Regions from separate parts of the Homo sapiens genome. Here region 1 is linked to region 2. Evidence: promoter capture Hi-C in human tissues and cell types (Jung and others, 2019). All regions are on one chromosome and are shown on one strand. Each heading gives the region's core, a stretch centred on a gene start or on the middle of the fragment in contact. The rest is flanking DNA. Distances are from core to core; before and after follow the strand shown. Region 1 has its middle 42 kb from the start of KCNG1. Region 2 holds the start of KCNG1 (potassium voltage-gated channel modifier subfamily G member 1).

Region 1 (3,567 bases), core at 531-3,030, 42 kb after region 2:
AGGGTATATGTCTGTTTAAACTATGACCTCATAGTGAGACCACTATTTGTTTCTGAGTAACACTGAGTTTCTGTTCATTTTCTTTTTTCTTTTTTTTTTTTTTTGAGACGGAATCTCGCTCTGTCACCCAGGCTGGAGTGCAGTGGCACGATCTTGGCTCACTGCAAGCTCCGCCTCCTGGGTTCATGCCATTCTCTTGCCTCAGCCTCCTGAGTAGCTGGGATTACAGGTGCCCGCCACCATGCCCGGCTAATTTTTTTTTGTATTTTTTAGTAGAGACGGGGTTTCACCGTGTTAGCCAGGATGGTCTCGATCTCCTGACCTTGTGATCCACCCGCCTCGGCCTCCCAAAGTGCTGGGATTACAGGCGTGAGCCACCGCGCCCAGCCAGAGTTTCTGTTCATTTTCTAAGAATCATTTTTTTCCCCTTCATTCTTCAGATTGGGTAATTCTTGCCCATCTCCCCCATTCCATATTTATATCTTCATTCACCCACAGTGGAAATCCTCGTTTTAGTAAAATTAGTATATTGACTCATTTGTTCTATCATGCAACACACAAGATACTTCCAGAATTACTGTACTGTTACCACTATCAACAATAAATCTACTAAATCAAGTTTAGCAACTATACGTGTGTATATATATAAAGGTATATATATAGGTTTTTTTATATGCATATACACACACACACACATTCCTTACCATTATCTTGGTGTGTCCTCCACCTAGTTCTCCACCCCAAAGATCTAGAAGTAAGCTTTAGTTACTTGAATCAATTATTTTCCCTGTGGAGTACATTATTTATATTTGCTGTACTGTTAGAATTATTTGTTTCTGCTTGCATTCAATTCTAGGAATAGCTTCTTTCTACCCCTTTTGATATAATTTACATGGTTCAAAAGCAAAACTACATAAAAATATGCTTGGAGAAGTCTCCCTCCCATCTTTTTCCCTTTCACCCTATTCTTATCCATACACTATAGCAAATAATTTCATTAGTTTCTGGTGTGGAGGTACCATATTTCATTCAATCAGTCTGTCACGGATGGACATTTAGATTGCTTCCTGTCTTTTGTTATTATCAATGCTGCTGCAATGAATAATCTGTGTATATCCTTTTTTCATAATTGTTTAGCAATTGATATGCAGGATAATCTGCTAAAAGTTGGATTGGTGGGTCAAAGAGTAAATACGTATGTGATTTTGATAGATCTGGCCAAATTTCCCTCCTTAGGGATTAACCCATTATGCACTCCTACCAACAATGTGTGAAGAGTCTTTTTCCCCACTGCCTGGTCAGCAGAGTTGGGTGGTAAGCTTCTTTTTTTTTTTTTTTTTTTTTTTTTTGACATGGAGTCTCACTCTGTCCCTCAGGCTGGTGTGCAATGGCATGATCTCGGCTCACTACAACCTCCGCCTCCCAGGATCAAATGATTCTCCTGCCTCAGCCTCCTAAGTAGCTGGGACTACAGGCATGTGCCACCACACCCGGCTAATTTTTTTGTATTTTTAGTAAAGAAAGGGTTTCAGCATGTTGGTCAGGCTGGTCTTGAACTCCTGACCTCAAATGATCCGCCCGCTTCAGCTTCTAAATTGCTGGGATTATAGGCATGAGCCACCGTGCCTGGCCAGTGGCAAGCTTTTGAATTTGCCAATATGATAAAGGAGAAATGATATATCAGGGTAGTTTTTTTTTAAACATTTGTGTTCAGGGGTACATGTAAAGGTTTGTTACATAGGTGAGCTCATGTCACATCACGAGGGTTTGTTGTACAGATTATTTCATCACCCCAGTACTAAGCCTAGTACCCAATAGTTATTTTTTCTAATCCTCTCCCTCCTCCCACCCTCCACCCTCCAGTAAACCCCAGTGTCTGCTGTTTTCTTTTTTTGTGTTCATAAGTTCTTACCATTCAGCTCCCACTTACAAGTGAGAACAAGTGGTATTGGTTTTCTGTTCTTGTGTTAGTTTGCTAAAGCTAATGGCCTCCAGCTTCATTCATGTTCCTGGAAAAGATATGATCTCGTTCTTTTTTATGGCTGCATAGTATTCCATGGTGTATATGTACCACGTTTTCTTTATTCAATCTGTCATTGGTGGGCATTTAGGTTGCTTCCACGTCTTTGCTTTGTGAATAGTGCTGCAGTGAACATTCGTGTGCATGTGTCTTTATGGTAGAATGATTTATACTCCTTTGAGTATATACTCAGTAATGGGATTCCTGGGTCAAATAGTAGTTCATATCCAGGTAGTTTTAATTTTCATTTCTTTTCTTATGAATGATGTTCAGCATCTTTCCTATGTTTAAGTACCATTTATCAATTTTTCTAATATGTTTTTGGTCTTTTCCCCCCTCTATTTTTTTTTTTTTTTTTTGGAGATGGAGTCTCACTCTGCTGTCCAGGCTGGAGTGCAGTGGCACAATCTTGGCTCACTGCAACCTCCACCTCCCTGGTTCAAGCAATTCCCCTGCCTCAGCCTCCCAAGTAGCTGGGATTACAGGCGCATGCCACCATGCCCAGCTAATTGTTTTTGTATTTTTAGTAGAGACAGGGTTTCACCATGTTGGCTCGACTGGTCTCGAACTCCTGACCTCAGGCAATCTGCCCACCTTGGCCTCCCAAAGTGCTGGGATTACAGACGTGAGCCACTGCGCCCAGCCTCTCGCCTCTATTTTTGAGGGTTTTTTATAAAGTAGAGAGATTAGCCTGTATCTATATGTAAGTATACATATAGATACAGATGCATCCCGCTCACTCTCTTTATCTATGTGTAATATATTATTAGCTAGAAAATTAATTGCAAATACTTTCTCCTGTTTTCTACTTGTCTTCTGAGTTTGCTTAACTTTGTTAATGTAGTCATAATCCGTCATTTTAATTCATGGTTTTGTAGTTTCGAAACTCTGGAGTCAGTTTTGAGATTTCTTTCTTTTGCATGCCTATAGTCAACTAATTACCAAGATCTGATGTTTTCTTTTTCGTAATATTTCTTGAATGTGAGGTTTTTCTTTCCACAGATTCATGGCTAACATCCTGGCCATTCTGCCCACATTGCTATGAGTTTCATTCTCCTGGTTCCAGGTTTTTTGACCCTTTGCTACCCGAATGATCTTCTTAGTCCTGTTAATATTGTCCTGCAAGTTTCTGAGGTTCTGTTTTTTCTTTTTTTCTTTTTTTGAGACAGGGTTTCTCTCTGACACCTAGGCTGAAGTGCAGTGGCCCGATCTTGGCTCACTGCAACCTCTGCCTCCCAAGCTCAAGCAATCCTCCCACCTGAGCCTCCTGAGTAGGTGGGAGTACAGGCATGTGCTACCACGCCTGGATAATTTTTGTATTTTTTGTATTTTCTGTTCATTTTTAACAGAACCTGAGAGGCTGGGTATGGTGGCTCACGCCTGTAATCCGAGAACTTTGGGAGGCTGAGGCGGGCAGATCGCTTCAGCCCAGGAGTTCAAGACCAGCCTGGGTAACGTGGTGAAACCTCGTCTCTACAAAAAATACAAAAATTAGCTGGGCATGGTGGTGCACACCTGTAGTCCCAGCTACTCAGGGGGCTGAGGTG
Region 2 (3,344 bases), core at 84-2,583:
AATGGACAACCTAACTCATAAACCCCATTGGTGGGAACCTGCATTCCTCAGTAATGTCGGATCAGTGTTTCTCAACTCCTCCCCACCCTACCCCATCACCCGCCCCTAAGGAGCTTTGAAAAGATCTTTTCTTCCTATTCTAGAACCAATTCCAGCTTCCACACCTCCCACCTTGAGAAGGAATGCATTAGATGAACCAAGACTTCTGCCTATATACATGGGCTGCTACAGTTGGCCACCCCGGCAGTCTGCGGCCTCCCAAGCGGGGGCCTGGGTCTTAATCCTTACTTCTCTCTAAGCTGCATGAAGGGTGCCCCCATTCCATCCCTCTTCACTTCTCCCCAGCATAGCGCCTCCATAAATGTTTGTGAACTGGATGAATGACTGTTGAGCGCTTGGTATGATGAGCTGCTTACAATAGGTGCTCAACCAATCTTTGTCCAATCTATGAATGAATGAATGAACTTCACCCTTTTCCTTCCATACCTCCGGGCTGAGCCTCTCTCCCACATGGAAACCCTAAGGCTGAGACCACCACCTTCCTACCAGTTCCTGGGGGTGCCCAGTGAACTGTCTCAGTATCCCCAGTGCCTAGCACACAGTAGGCGCTCAATAAACGCTTGCTGTGTTCATAATGAATGACTCAATCAGGCCCACGGTGGGGGTGAAGGGGGGCTCCATACTGTGCCTAAGGATACAGTGAATGAGCAAGTGACACACACTCCCCCACCCCAATCCCTAACTCTCCTTCCTCCCAGGATCGGGGGAGAAACCTCGGCCCACAGCCGGGATGCGCCCCCGCCGGGGTCACCGCGGCGGCGAACGTCCCGGACTTCGCATCCCGGTGACCCCTTGGGATGAACCGAAGCCGGACCCGCACCTTGGCCGTAACAAGCGCGCTCCACGCCGCCACGCACCAGCGGTGACTCCCGAGTCCTCTGTCGCCCTGGCCTCCCCGCAGGCGGGTTTCGAGGCCCCCGCAGGGAGTTCAGGGCCACGGCCACGTGCAGCCGCCCCCGAGCCCGAGTTTGCAGGCTCGGGGTCCGGTTCGCGCTTCGGTGGCGCCCGGCGAGGCTGCAGCGCGCAAAGTTCCCACCTCAAGTTCCCGTCGCGGCGTCCCCGCCTCGGAGTTGGCCCGGCCGCGGCTTCCGTTCCCCCCGGCTGCCCACGGGTCCGGGGCGAGGACGCGAGAGGGGCCTGGAAGTCGCCCGGGGAGCCCGCTCTGCCTCCCGGAGCCGCCGCCAAACTTCGGTCCCGGGGCCCGGCTCAGCTCCCGCCCTCGGAGCCACGGCCGCCCCGTCTCTGCCTCCCGGTCCCCGCCGGGCTCCGAGTGCGCCGGGAGCGCGGCGCAGCAGCCGCCGAGGGAGGGAGCGAGGCAGGAGGCGGGACGGAGGGAGGGGACTGAGCGCGGGGCGGGGAGAAGGGGCGGGCAGCCGAAAGCGCAGCGCCTGGCCTCGCCTCGCTTCGGGACAGTGGCAGCGGCGCCACCGTCACGGGGCGTCCAGGCGCCCAATCGGGACCCCGCACCTTGGATCCGGGGGCCCTGGCGCGCCTGCTGGATTGCGCTCCTCGCGGCCAGTTCCTGAGCCCGCGTCCGGGACTGCTCGCGCTACGCCCTCCCTCCCGTTGCCTTCTTCCCCGTCTGCTCTCCCAGGAGCGACCACCCTGCGGCCCCTTCGCCTGCACGCGACAGCCTTCAAGGTCCCCGCGCTCCGCTGCCCTGGAGCTTCACGCACCAGGCGGCGCGGCAGCCTCCTAGGGTCGCGCGCCCTGTCAGCTTTCCCCGCGGTGCAAGTGCTCCGGTGGTCCCGGGTCCGCGCCCCTAGCAGCACCGCCCCAGGGTCTACATGTGCTAGATATTAAAACCCCACTCTCCGCTGCCCCGGGGCCGCGCTCCACGCGCTTACACATCCTGGGAACCACATGCGCCATGTCTCCTGCCTTTCCCTGGAAGTCCTGGAAGTCCAAGTGCACTGCTGCCTCTGGGTCCCTCGCCCCCCTACCCCGGGCAAATACTGCATCCTTGAGGCCCTCCACGCGCTGCTGCCCTGGAGCCGAACGCTCCAAGCAAGCTTCCACATCCTGGGGGCCATATATCGCGCGCCTTTTCTCGACCTCCTAGACCAATGTTGCCCTTGGGCCCTTCCTGCCACCGCCACCCAGGGACTGCCAGCATCTTGCTGTGCCAAATTCCTAGGGCCAGTACGTACCGTGCCAGGTGTTTTCCCTTCCAGTCCCGCGGGGCCGAGGCCCCAGAGCCCTCCCGGGCTAGCAGAGCCGCACTTCGTCGTCCACTCCCCTGGCCGGTGCAGGGCACTTGGACCAGGTCCTGGGGTCTTGCTCCCAGTGTGGCCGCCTAGCCTCGGAGTTGGTAGGATGCTGCACAGATGCTGGAGGTTGGGTTGGAGGGATCTATTGGGTTGGAGGAATCTACTGAGTTGGAGGGACCTATTGGTTTGGAGGGATCTGTGCTGCTGGCAGGGCTGGCCTCTTAGGGTGGCTTGCCTTGCACTCCGTTCCTCTTCTCCTTTCTGTCTCTTGCACTCCGTTCCTCTTCTCCTTTCTGTCTCTTGCACTCCGTTCCTCTTTTCCTTTCTGTCTCTACTGCCTTTGCCTATCATCAGAGAACCAAGAAAGGACATGAAGAAACCCTGCTGCCGACCAGCCTGAGGCCTTCTGCTTGAGTGGGGCTCGGGTTGGGGAGTCGTGGGTGCTCATTAAGTGGGTTAGGGTTAACCCTAAGAAATGAGCGCAGGGCACACTAGCCTGCGCGGCAGTCCCAGCCGGGTGGAGCATAGGAGTTCCAGGTTATAGTGCACTATGATGGCACCACTGCAATCCAGCCTGCGTGACTGAGCGAGATCCAGCCTCTAAAACAACAAGAATAAAAACACTGGCTTACTGGTGAGGTGGAGGCCTGGACAGACAAGGATCTGCCTAAGGACCTGTTTCCAAGAGCTCACCTTCTACTGGGGGCTTGGCAGAATTGGGAAACTGCTGAAATACGTGATTGCAGAATGAAGCCAGAGAGGCCACTTTAGATAGAATAATGGGGGAGGGCTCCTGTGGAGGTGATGGTTACATGGAGCCCTGAGCCAGAAGGAGCCCATCTGGCAAGATGGGAAGAGAGCTTTCTAGGTGGACAGAACATCAAAGGCACTGGCCTTCAAGCAGGAGAGAAGGAGGCATGTCTGAGAAACATCAAAGAGACCAACCAGCAGTGTGGGGGAGGGGCCTGAGTGGGGTGGGGTGGGCTTTTGTTGTCAGAGGGTCCCTGGATTACATATTGAGAAACACTCCTCTTGTGGTGGATCAGGCTTCTGCCTTCCTTTCCCATCTGAAAT

What was found. The method cuts DNA at HindIII sites, captures the fragments that hold promoters and counts their contacts. A contact is called where the count stands out against the background at its distance.
Region 1: a contact is called between a fragment that was not itself captured here and the fragment with the promoter of KCNG1 in region 2, in 10 of the 25 tissues and cell types used here (H1 embryonic stem cells, IMR-90 fibroblasts, bladder and 7 more).

Annotation. Positions count from the first base shown.
Region 1 is chr20:51,063,782-51,067,348 of GRCh38, forward strand. No RefSeq gene overlaps it. Among named protein-coding and RNA genes, the nearest start is that of KCNG1, 42 kb to the left of the region's middle. The HindIII fragment of the contact is 5,903 bases long and covers 1-3,567 here.
Region 2 is chr20:51,021,774-51,025,117 of GRCh38, forward strand. KCNG1 (potassium voltage-gated channel modifier subfamily G member 1) reads right to left here and starts at 1,334. Exons shown (of 3, transcript NM_002237.4): 1 at 1,097-1,334. RefSeq lists a silencer at 1,263-1,432. The HindIII fragment of the contact is 10,697 bases long and covers 1-3,344 here.